Regions from separate parts of the Homo sapiens genome. Here region 1 is linked to region 2. Evidence: promoter capture Hi-C in 16 types of primary human blood cells and fetal thymus (Javierre and others, 2016). All regions are on one chromosome and are shown on one strand. The core of a region is centred on a gene start or on the middle of the fragment in contact, and the rest is flanking DNA. Distances in the headings are between cores, read along the strand shown.

Evidence for each region. Contacts are between HindIII fragments. The CHiCAGO score rates a contact against its expected background, and 5 or more counts as called.
Region 1: a contact is called between a fragment that was not itself captured here and the fragment with the promoter of PGLYRP1 in region 2, in 1 of 17 cell types (M2 macrophages). The highest score is 6.6, in M2 macrophages.

What each region holds. Positions count from the first base shown.
Region 1 is chr19:46,502,513-46,509,195 of GRCh38, forward strand. No RefSeq gene overlaps it. Among named protein-coding and RNA genes, the nearest start is that of PNMA8B, 10 kb to the left of the region's middle. The HindIII fragment of the contact is 3,443 bases long and covers 2,501-5,943 here.
Region 2 is chr19:46,021,076-46,027,352 of GRCh38, forward strand. PGLYRP1 (peptidoglycan recognition protein 1) reads right to left here and starts at 1,978. Exons shown (of 3, transcript NM_005091.3): 1 at 1,660-1,978. The coding sequence starts at 1,946. RefSeq lists an enhancer at 586-1,471. The HindIII fragment of the contact is 5,413 bases long and covers 1-3,081 here.

The DNA of each region.
Region 1 (6,683 bases), core at 2,972-5,471, 480 kb after region 2:
AATTGTTCGAAATTCTTCTCCCCCTCATTTTGTGTTCGAGAAAAATACAAGTGAATCTGCTTAACTGGAAATGGCGCTATTGGAGCAAGGGTTCTCTTTCTTTGTTTTCGTTTTTTTTTTTTCGAGACGGAGTCTCACTCTGTTGCCCAGGCTGGAGTGCAGTGGCGCAATCTCAGCTCACTGCAAGCTCCGCCTCCCGGGTTCACGCCATTCTCCTCCCTCAGCCTCCCAAGTAGCTGGGACTACAGGTGCCTGCCACCACATCCGGCTAATTTTTTAATTTTTTTAGTAGAGACGGGGTTTCACCGTGTTAGCCAGGATGATCTCAATCTCCTGACCTCGTGATCCGCCCGCCTCAGCCTCCCAAAGTGCTGGGATTACAGGTGTGAGCCACCGCCCCCGGCCAGAGCAAGGGTTCTCAAAGTGTGGTCTGGGGACCTCTACGGGTTGCAAGGACATTCCAGGGCATCCATCAGATAAAAACCATTTTCATAATACTAAACCATTATTTGTCTTTTCACTCTTACTCTCTTACCAGTGTTCAGTGGAATTTTCCAGAGGCTACATGCCGTGCCGTATTGCAGCTGACTGAACCAGGAGGCAGGTCAAGGATTGTTGAGCCAGATATCAAAGTGAGTTGAAAAACACCAAAATACTACAGTGCCACTCTTCTCACTAACTTTGTTTTGTTTTGGGAAATATATCTATTTTTAGGGCTAGGCAAGGTGGCTCATACCTGTTATCCCAGTACTTTGGGAGACCAAGACAGGAGGATTGCCTGAGCCCAGGAGTTCGAGACCAGCCTGGACAACATAAGGAGACCCCATCTCTACAAAAAATACGAGAAAAATTAGTCAGTTGTGGTGGCCCATGCCTGTAATACCAGCTACTGGGGAGGCTGAGGTAGGAGAATTGCTTGAACCTGGGAGGTTTGAGGCTGCAGTGAACCATGATTGTGCCACCGCACTTCAGCCTGGGAAACAGAGTGAGACCCTGTCTCAAAAAAAAAAAACCTATTTATATATGTTATCTACATGAGTGTGTAACATGTTTGTTACTAGGCAGGAGATTTTCAGGCTCCAGATGGCCCTACTTGGCTGGTCACCGTTAGATCTTACGTGCACGGGGCCTGGGGCTCAGGGTCTATTCTTTTCTCTCTCTCTCGTTTTTTTTTTTTTTTTTTTTTTGAGACAGGGTCTTACTCTGTCACCCAGGTGGGGTGCAATGGCTCAATCATGGCTCACTATTTTTGAAAGGGTTAACAAATACCATATTCTTTTAATTTATCAGGAGAGATTCCTAATAGAGTAAATATCGACACATATAACCCACATAAACAAACGCTCTTTAGGGTCCTTGATAATTCTTAATAATTTGAGAGGTCCTGAGACCAAATCGTTGGAGAATATACATACTCGAGAATATAACACAATGTTCCCTAGGGCCCAAAACAGAAAAACCATATTTTTCAGCCGGGCGTGTGTGTGCGTGCGTGTGTGTGTGCATGTGTGTGTGTGCGTGTGTGTGTGCATGTGTGTGTGCGTGTGTGTGTGCATGTGTGTGTGTGCGTGTTTCTCCAGCAAGTTACAGTTGAATCATGGGAGTTAGGTGCACTGCAGACTCATCTCCCATCTCCCCTCCGTTGTCTTTCTGCTCCTCTCTTTTCGCCTCAGAGCAGTGTTGCCAGGGAAACCAGATCAGCACATCCTCAACACAAAATCAATTTACCTCCCGTGTGTCTGGAGGGTGACGAATGGCAGGTCTGCCTTTCAACACGTTTACATCCAAGGAGCTGTCAACTCCGCCTGCCTCCACGTCTTAGAAATGCCATTTTATCTTCATCCCCCTCTCCCATTCCTTTTCACTTTTCATTTTGTGATGGCTGTCCTTTTATTTTCATGTGTTCCTGCAAAATGTGCATTGCTGTTTGGGGGCATCTAGGCTAAATTTGCATAACTTGTTTTCCATGATCTATCTCTTTTTGTTTCTCATGGTTTTTGTGTGTGTGTGTGTGTGTGTGTGTGTGTGTGTGTGTGTGTGTGTGCGGTTTTCTTTCTTTTTTTTTTTTTTTAGCACTCAGCAGTAACGTGTCTAAGATTGATCCCAGTTCTGTATCTTGCTGGTAATTTCACCTGCTGAATGGGGCTGCATGGTTGTTAAACATTGCTGCAAGTTCTTTAACTCTGCTGAGAGGTGAGATCTACCTCCTCTTTCCTTGAAGCTGAATCTGGGTGAGTTTGTGACTACCTCAACTGCTAGTGTACATCCACTTGCTCTGTGTCTTTCAAGGTTAGCTGGATGCTAGGTGACTTCCAAGGTTAGTTATAAAAGGCTTTTGCCTGGTTCTTCTGGAATAATTACTGCTTGGAACTTAGCTGCCATGCCGTGAGGAAGCCCAACTCACATGGAGAGCTCTGCATGTAGGTGCTCAAGTCAACAGCTCCAACTAAGTCCAGTCTTCAAATCATCTCAAACCAGGCACCGGACATATGAGTGATGAAGCTTCCAGATGATTCCAGACCCTAGCCATTGGGGTCATCCCAGCTGTGGCCCCACACATTATGGGGCCAAAAGAAGCCATCCCCTTTCATAACTATGGACCCATGGAATCTATGGGCATAATGAGATGTTGCTGCTTTATGACACTAAGTGAGGGTTGGTTTGTTACACAGCGAAAGTAACCAGTGCACACCCAGATCCATCTCCTGCTCCCACATACACACAGCACAAATACTCTACCATAAATGTTCTTGTACACATTTTCTTATGATGTTGAATGAGAATGAGACACTGAGACTGCCCTTGGCATAGGTCCCAGGAGCAGAATTGCTTGGGTCTGCATATTCCTTTATTTATTTATTTATTTTTGTCACCGAGTGACAGTAGCCATCATGGCTCACAACAGCCTTGACTTCCTGCACTCAGGTGATCCTCTTGCCTTAGCCTCCTGGGTAGCTGAGACTACAGGTATGCACCACCACGTCTTGCTTATTTTAAAAAAATTTTTGTAGAGATAGGGTCTCACTATGTTGTCTGGGCTGGTCTCGAACTCCTGGGCTCAAGCAATTCTCCTTCCTAAGCCTCTCAAAGTGCCGGATTACAGCATGGGCCACTGCGCCTGACTAGGGTCTGCGTATTCCTAACTCTACCAAGTCCTACAAGTCACTCAGTGCAATGAATGTCCCTATTTGCTCACATATGAGGATTCCTGTGCCCCCAGTGCCCACTCCCACCTCTGGAGATTGTCCAGGCTTCTAGGATTTGCCCATCTCATGGGCATAAGGTGGTAGCTCATTGTTCTCCAACTACAAATGAGTTTGCACATCTCTTTTTTAGTTTATTTGGAAATCCCCTTCTTTAAATATCCTGTTCATAGTGTTTTCCCATTTTCTCATTGCTGTTTGTGCTTTTACCACCACAACTGTTGACTTTTTTTTTTTTTTTAGACAGTCTCGCTCTGTTGCACAGGCTGGAGTGCAGTGGCACTATCTCGGCTCACTATAAGCTCTGCCTCCTGGGTTCACGCCGTTCTCCTGCCTCAGCCTCCTGAGTAGCTGGAACTACAGGCGCCCGCCACCACACCCGGCTAATTTTTTGTATTTTTAGTAGAGACAGGGTTTCACTGTGTTAGCCAGGATGGTCTCGATCTCCTGACCTGTGATCCGCCCGCCTTGGCCTCCCAAAGTGCTGGGATTACAGGCGTGAGCCACCGCACCCGGCTAATTGTTGACTTTTTTGAACAGAGCCCAATGCAATTCCTAAAGGTATTTTAGCTCTTTCTGTTGCTCCAATAATATATTGTTAAATGTGAATAACATTTCTATAATACAAAGAGGATAGTATAACATGGTGCTCAGTAAATCTTGTATTGAACAGATGGAGGAAGAAAGGAAAGGAGGAATTATAACATCACACACACCATGCCAAGGGATGATCTTATGCCAGACATTGGCTAGAATAGCCTTTAATATATTGCTTCATTTAATCTTCACCACAGTCATGTAAAGCCAGCCCCATTATTATCTCTATTTCCCAGATGAGAAATCTGAGGCTGTGTGTGTGTGCACACACACGCAGGGTGGAAGGTCTTTTACAACTGGGAAGTGGTGAGACATCAATTTGACCTCAGGTCTCTGTGACTCCAAACCTCTGATTCTTTTGTTTGTTTGTTTGTTTGTTTTTGAGATGGAGTCTTGCTCTGTGAGCAGGCTGGAGCGCAGTCGCGTGATCTCGGCTCACTGCAACCTCCGCCTCCTGGGTTCAAGTGATTCTCCTGCCTCAGCCTCCCAAGTAGCTGGGATTACAGCCACCTGCCACCACGTCCAGCTAACTTTTGTATTTTTAGTAGAGACGGGGTTTCACCATGTTGGCCAGGATGGTCTCGATCTCTTGACCTCATAATCTGCCCGCTTTGGCCTCCCAAAGTGCTGGGATTACAGGCGTGAACCACCGTGTCTGGCTCCAAACCTCTGATTCTAACAGGGATACTAGGCAGACTTTCAGCAGCACCATCCCTCCTCAGCACTCATTCATTCATTTGTTCATTTAATCATTTAGCAAACACAAAGAACCCACACGTGTGGGATATGACTGTGACTACATCAGACCAGGGCCTGGCTGACATCATAGGGAGATCAGATATGAACCACTAATAACTACGAATTCATAATGATGAAAAGAGTGAATAAATTACTTCACAGACTTTCTGTGGATTTTCATGTGATGATGAAAAACAGTGAGCTGGGTCCCAATGTATTTCCTGGCAACTGGCCATGTTCTATTGTTGCAGAGAAGCAAGATATAGGATGAAGTGTATCAGTGATTCCATTCACACTAGAGCGGACCATGAAATATGGATTTCAACCTTAGTCAAGCCTCATCATGTTCCACCTTAGAAAATGCTAAAAAATGTTAACCCACTATTTGCAAAAGAAAACAAAAAGCTGGGCTGGGCGCAGTGGCTCACGCCTGTAATTCCAACACTTTGGGAGGCCGAGGCCGGTGGATCACCTGAGGTCAGGAGTTCGAGACTAGCCTGGCCAACATGGCGAAACCCCATCTTTACTAAAAAAGCAAAAGTTAGCCGGGCATGATGGTGGGTGCCTGCAATCCCAGCTACACAGGGGGCTGCGGCAGAAGAATCACTTAAACCCCAGAAAGTAGAGGTTGCAGTGAGCTGAGATCGCACCACTGCACTCCAGCCTGAGCGACAGAATGAGACTCTGTCTCAAAACACACACACACACACACACACACACACACACACACACACACAAATGAAAAACAATAAAAGCAAGCATTCAGTAAGATGTGACATGCACCAAGGAGGAGACACATGAGGTGCTGTAGGACGAGTAATGGCTCTGGGGGGCCGGAGGGGTTGTGAGAAACAAAATCAAGGTCCCAAGGGATAAAACCCACTCCTGGGGCGGGGCCCCGCGGCTCACGCCTGTAATCCCAGCACTTTGGGAGGCCGAGGAGGGCGGATCACTTGAGGTCAGGAGTTTGAGACCAGCCTGGCAAACATGGTAAAACCCCGTCTTAGTAAAAATACAAAAATTAGCTGGGCACGGCGCGGGCACCTGTAATCCCAGCTATTCAGGAGGCTGAGGCAGGAGAATCACTTGAACCCAGAAGGTGGAGATTGTAGTGAGCCAAGATCGTGCCACTGCTGCACTCCAGCCTGGATGACAAGAGGGAAGCTCCGTTAAAACAAAACAAAACAAAACAAAAAAAACACCACTCCTGGGAGGAAACAGCTAGTGACCCAAGTTGACCAGGGTCTGCTTTAAGACAAGGAATGAAGAGGTCTCCAAAGACCAGAGTATCCCAGGGGACCACATAAAAAAGTCTTTAGTTTTTCAAATAGTTTGCATGACTGGACCCTTGGGACACCGGCCTGAGAAGGAAGGAATTAGTCAAGAGATGGACAATGCCAGAAAAAGCTTTTCCTTGGAAAAAGACCCTGGTTTAAGTTCAAGATAGCCTCATGAGTAAAGAAGCAAGACACAAAAGTGTACATCTTTTTTTTTTTTGAGATGGGAGTTTTGCTCTTGTTGCCCAGGTGGGAGTGCAATGGCACAATCTCAACTCACCACGACCTCCGCCTCCTGGGTTCAAGTAATTCTGCTGCCTCAGCCTCCCGAGTAGCTGGGATTGCAAGCATGCACCTCCATGCCTGGCTAATTTTGTATTTTTAGTAGAGACGGGGTTTCTCCATGTTGGTCAGGCTGGTCTCAAACTCCCAACTTCAGGTGATCCACCCGCCTCGGCCTCCCAAAGTGCTAAGATTACAGGTGTGAGCCACCGCACTTAGCTAAAAGCATACATCTTTCTATGATTCCATTTGTATGACATTCTAGGACAGGCAAAACTATAACCTATGGTGGAAAAAAATCAGAGCAGTGCTTGCCTCTGGAGTTCGGGGACTGGCTGGAAAGGAACATGCAGGAACTTTCTGGGATGATGGGGTGTTCGGTATTTTTTTTTTTTTTTTGAGATGGAGTCTCACTCTGTCACCCAGGCTGGAGTGCAGTGGAGCGATCTCAGCTCACACTGCAACCTCAGCCTCCCGGCCTCAAGCAATTCTCCCACCTCAGCCTCCTGAGTAGCTGGGATGACAGGCACACCATCACACCCAGCTAATTTTTGTATGTTTTTGTAGAGACAGGCTTCTGCCATGT
Region 2 (6,277 bases), core at 728-3,227:
TTACAGGTGAAGAAACGAGGCTCAGAGAGAGAAGGTGACGTGACATGGAAAGGGGATTCAGAACGTTAGAACCAGATTCGGAATCCTAAAAGCTGAGGGCCAGACAGCGGCTGCTTCTGTATGTGGTGATGTGGACCCGAGGCTCGGGCCTTCGTGACCTCATGGGAACACTTAGGATCAGAGCGCCTGAGTCTTGGAAACAAAATGTTGAAGTTGGAGTCTTTGATAAAATCTTGAACTGGAAGGGCTGGGAATACCTTTGGACACTTCTAGACTTCTCTGGGTGGGTTTTGTGTGTGTGTGTGTGTGAGACACAGCCTTAGGAGGTCCTGAGAACATGTGTCCCCTGGGTGGGGTCTATTGAAGTGGTCTCTGGGGACCTGCATGTTCCTCCAATAAGCTCTGCAGGAGATTCTGATGCTTACCTGGGTCTGAGAGCCTGCAGGATTGAAAGTTCCCTCCCTGTGGAAACCGTCAGGCTGGACTGCAGCCCATTCTAAGGAGGAGGTAGCTGGTAGGCGTGGCCCCGGACCTGCTTCAGCCTGCTTCAGCCGGCACCCCTTACAGTCTGTTCTCCCCACAGCAGCCAGAGGGAGTCTCTTGTACCTACACTAGCCCTGGTCCCTGCTCTGCGGGGGGAAGCCTCCCATGGCTCCCATCTCGGAGTAAAAGCTACAGTCCTCACTGTGGTCCACAAAGCCCTGCCTGGTCCTGCCCTTTCCTCATTTCATTCCGCTCGCCCGGCTGTGTTCAGCCACCCTGTCCTTCCCACAGGACCCGCCCACTCAACCCCGTTGGCTTTGCCCCCAGCACCCCCTGCCACCTGCAGGCCTCTGTCTGCTCCCCCATCCCAGAGCCAAGGCAGCCACTCTCAGGGAGGCTTTCCCTTGCCCCACCCTTCCAAGGAGCCTGTGTGGGTCTGGTCCCAGCCTGAGGTCACCCTCCCTCACCTCTTTCCTTTTATCCATCGCCTCTATCACCGTCTGAATTCACCTGTGGCCTTGGCTTGTTTCTCCCTGCTGGTCTTTCAACCCCAGGAGGCTAGAGTGGCACCGTTCTCCATGCCACATCTGGCACACTGCCTGGCACATAGTAGGTGCCTAATGGTAATAGCCCGTGGCTTTGCGGGCCCCCGTGTGCCAGGCAGTTCCTAGGTGCTTTGCCTGTATTGGCTCATATAAGGAGCAGATGGGCCGCGATTCCATTGACTTTGCCGAGGAGGAAGCTGAAGCCGGGAGGACCCGCCCCAGGCCTCAGCCAGCAATAAGATGAGCTGACCCTGGAACCCAGCTCCGCACTGAGTCAGCCTGGTTTTCCGCCTCCTAACAAAGGCACCAGGCATCAGGAAGGGGCGCCTTCATAAGGCGTCGCGGACACCTTGGTGTGTGTTAGGCAAAGCCTGCCCCTTCTTCCCGGGAGCGGGAGCGGGGCTTGGATTTCAGCCCATCCCCCCTTCTCACGCATCTTTGTGCTGTGAGCACCTGCCCCGGCCCACGTGGTGACCCGAGGAAGAAATGACCTTGTGAGGTTCAGTAAGCTGCTCAGGGTGTCAGCCAGGTGGCCTCAGCACCAGGCCTAGAAATGGTCCCGCTGGCGGGCACTTGCACACCTTTGCCTCTGGGATCCCCAGTCCAGCCCGTGCCCCCCTGCCACACTCACTTGTAGCCCACGTCGCACCAGCCCAGTGTCTTCATGTGGTAGTGCTGCACATTCCGGGCCTGCTGCTGGCACGAGGCGGGGGTGTTGCAGCTGCTGCCCGCCGTGTGCGATACCACCACATAGCGTAAGGGCAGGCTCAGGTGCTGGGCGCACTCTGATGCCAGGGCCTTCCACTCGTTCCGGGGCACTATGGGGCTGCAGCAGGCCGGGTCTTCTGTCTCCTGAGCCGCTCCGAGTCGAAGGAGGCTGGGGAGAGCCCAGGCAAGCAGCATAGAGCGGCGGGACATAGTGGCAGGGCGGCAGGGTCCGGGAGACCGCTAGGAGCGCCCGGTGGAGGGGCCGCCTTTATCTGCTGGGGGATTCCAGGAGTGGCCCGGAAAGTCTTGCTTCACACCCTGCTGGGACTTCCTGCTGGCCCAGCAGACCCCAGACTCAGCTTCCTTCTCTGGCTGGGCCAGGGCGGGATGCACTGTGGTTGGGGTCTGGGTCACGCCCACGGCAATGACAGGCCCCCTCGCTCAGCAGGGAGGGACGCACAGGCCCCTGGGCGCTTCGCCCCGCCGTTTCTGGAAGACCCGGGGCCGGGATCCCGGTCCTGCTTGTCTCTCCTCTCAGTGGAACATTGAACAACTCAACAGGAACTTACATCGCAGAGGCCCGGGGCATTGGCACATCTTCTCCCCGCAAGGACTGAGGTAACAAAGCTACCCATTTTAAAAACACTTCCTTCCCCCAGGTCCAAGCCTGATGCCATTTACGCTTGCAGCAAACTCAAGAGGTGAGTATCTGGAAGTCCATTTCACAGTGGAGTAAACTGAGGTTGAGAGCAGGGAAGTCACGGGCTGAGACACCGGAGGCACTGGAGCCCCGCGTCTAGAGCCAGGCTGCCTGCATGTGAATCCTGGATATGCAGTGTGTGAGAGCCTGCAAGTGGTTTTTAAAAATGTGTATTTAAAATTTTTTTTTTAATTTTCTATTTTATAAATAATATTTTCCTTTTTTTTTTTTTTTTTTTTTGAGATGGAGTTTTGCTCTTGTCACCCAGGCTGGAGTGCAATGGTGCGATCTTGGGCCACTGCAACCTCCGCCTCCTGGCTTCAAGTGATTCTCCTGCCTCAGCCTCCTGAGTAGCTGGGATTACAAGTGCACACCACCACGCCCAGCTAATTTTTATATTTTTGGTAGAGACGGGGTTTTGCCATGTTGGCCTGGCTGGTGTCGAACTCCTGACCTCAGGTGAGCCACCTGCCAGTGTTCCAGAGTGCTGGGATTACTATAGGCATGAGCCACCGTGCCTGACCTGTGTGGTGTGTTTTCATCTTCTGTGTTCTGCCTTCTCATATACATTGTACTCATGCTGTTACTGAATTGTGCACCAGGCATCTGTAGCACTTTTCAGAAATTATCATATACTCAACGACAAGCTTGCCAGATCCATGTTATTATTAACCCCTCTTACAGTTGACGGAACTGAGGCCCGGGGGGATGATCACATACAGGAGGTGATGAAGCCAGGGTTTGGCTACAGGCTTTCTGCCTGCAGAGTTATAAACCGTATTCTCCTCCCTACAAACTTATATAAGGACATTAAAAAAAAAAATCAAAACCATGTGCATCAATTTACCTTTTGTCACCTAATATTTCATGGGCATCTCACCAGGGCAGTACATCTAATTCTAATTTATTCTTTATAATAGTTGCACAATATGCTATAGTATCAGTTCAGCATTGTGGATCTTTTAGTTTTTGAAGGTTTTCCAGTATTTTCTCCACACTACGCAAAATATTTTCAGACATATATCCCTATGCACTGGTGCATTTATAAGTAAATTATAAACACAGAGTTATTAGGTCAATGAGTATACATATTTAATTAATATTACCAGATCATTTTCCCCAAAAAGCCATTAATAATTCATATTTTTCACCAGTAATGTTTTGGAGCCTCCTCACCCCGACCCCAGAAGTGGGTGTTATCACTTTTTTTTTTTTTTTTTTGAGTCAGAGTCTCGCTCTGTCACTCAGGCTGGAATGCAGTGGCACGATCTTGTCTCACTGTAAACCTCCACCTCCTGGGTTCAAGCCATTCTCCTGCCTCAGCCTCCCAGGTAGCTGGGATTACAGGCATGTGCCACCACACCTGGCTAATTTTTGTATTTGTAGTAGAGATGGGGTTTCGCCATGTTGGCCAAGCTGATCTCGAACTCCTGAGCTCAGGTGATCCACCCACCTCAGCCTCCCAAAGTGCTGGGATTACAGGCATGAGCCACCTTGCCTGGCCAGTGTTATCACTTCTTAAATTTATAAGTATAAAGTGACAGCTCCTTTGGCATTTTTATACCCACTCAGGAGACTGGGTATTTTTCTGTATTTGCTGTCTATATTTGGGCTTGCTCTTTTGTCAATTACCTGTTCATATCCATTGCCCATTAAAAAAAATTGGGTTGTTTGCCTTTTTGTTATTATTTGCAAAATGAACAAAAGAATCCCATAATTGGGATTTTTGACTTCTTGGGTGTGTACATTTTGTGTATTTCAGTTTTTTTAGAAGCATTAAAGAATAATGTAATATAAAAAGTGTGTAAACACATTTTTTATAGAGTTGATAGACTTAATAGAGTAGTGAGCTTATGAGTGTTCACGAAGTGAATCCACCTGTGTATCCAGTGCCTGGATTAAGAAGTAGAGCTACACTTAAAATTTTAATAGGAATTGGTAAATACAATACCAAAAAGATTTTAGTATATATTTTTCCCACAATATGATCAGTTTTTAAATGTTTTACTAATCCAAAGAACAAGATCTCATTATTGCTTTATTTGCATTTCCTTGAACATTAGAGAGGTGATTATCTTTTTACATATTTATGGCTATCAGCATCCATCTTCAAACTGTCTGTTCATCTCTTCTGATCATTTTCTTGTTGAGTTGTATATGGGGGATATTAACCCTATGTCTTATCAAATGTGCTGTAAACCCTTTCCTCTAATCTGTTAAAAAAATATCTAGGTTTTTCTTTTATGGTTTCTGTGTTTCCTGTCTTGCCTTAAGAGGGACTTTTCACACTAAGATTGTAAAACTTTTTCTATTTAAAAAAGATTATTTTGTGTTTTACTTTTAGATCTTTATCTCGGCTAAAATGTATACTTGCATGTGGTGTGAGGTAGGGGTCTGATCTTGTTTCCAGATGCCTAGCCGTTTGCCCAGGTTCTGTTTATTATATAGGTAGACCTGGTTTTAAATTTCCATTCTGCCCCTTATTAGCTACATGATCTTGGGAAATTGGATAGCAATTGACACAGTCGACCACTTCCTCCTTCTCAAAATACTTATTTCCCTTAGCTTTTGTGATGTAAGACTGCCTTGATTTTCCTTCTGCTTCTCTGGCTGGTCTTTTTTTCTCTCTCTCTTTTTTTCAGAGCAATTCTTCCCTCCTGGACCCTCAAACCATATATTTTGTGCTGAGTGATCTTATCCACATAATGGCTTCAGCCACAGTCAAAATGCAGAGGATTCCTGTATTTCAATGTCTAGTCTGGAGCTCTCAGTTGAGTTCTGGATCTGTGTATCCACCTGGCCACTTGACGCCTCCACTTGGATGTCCCACAGGCACCTCCAATGCAAAATGACTCATGACCTTCTCCTCCCCATCAGCACTCTCACAGGAGTTCCTGTCTAAGGAAATGGTATCACCATCTTCCCATTACAAAAGCCATACATTTGAGCACCATCCTTGACTAATTCCTGTTCCTTCCTCTGTTGTACCCAGTACCCAAAAGAATGCCCAGCACATGGTAGGTGCTCACTAAATAGCTACTTGATTGAATGGATATGCAACCCACCACCAAGGAATGCCACTGTGATGAATTAGAACTCTTCTATCTAATTCCATTCTCTGCACCCTGGTCCAGACACCACCTCCTTTCACCTGGATTTTGCCCTGCCTCTTCAGTGACCTCCCAGGATGCACTCTGGCCTCTGTGAAGCCAAAGCTCTGCTCAGATCTTTTCTAAAGTCACCCTCAAAAATGAGTCACATTTTTCATTGGCATCTCTTGATTCCTAGAATGAGGCCCAAGCTCCTCCCCATGGCCAACAGCATGGGCTGCCTACAGTATGGGCTGCCCCCATCCCAGCCTCACCTTGCTTACTCCCAAAAGCCTCTTTCTGACTCCTGCAGCCACTGTCCCCTTCTTGCTGCCCTTGAACATGCTTTGACTACCCTGTTCCCTTGGGGACTTCAGACACACCAGGTATAAGTTTTAAATAGAGGAACCTGGAACGAATTCAGGAACTTTGTACCTTAGCTTTAAGACAACAAAACACCAAGCCAGCCTTTTGTAAAAAGACAGGACTATTTACACATCACATTCCTTTTTTTAATTTTTATTTTCTTTTTTCCCTTTCTTTTGCCTGTTCTTTCATTTGAGGCACAGATCCCTTAAAGACACTAAGAATATAAACATTAGCCAGCTGGAGTGAAGCCTTCCATTGTGAGAGTTTTATTTAGTCTGTATCTTTAAAAAAATGTATTTACTTATTTATTTTTTGAGACAGTTTCACTCTGTTGCCCAGGCTGGAGTGCAGTGGCACAATCTTGGCTCACCACAACCTCCGCC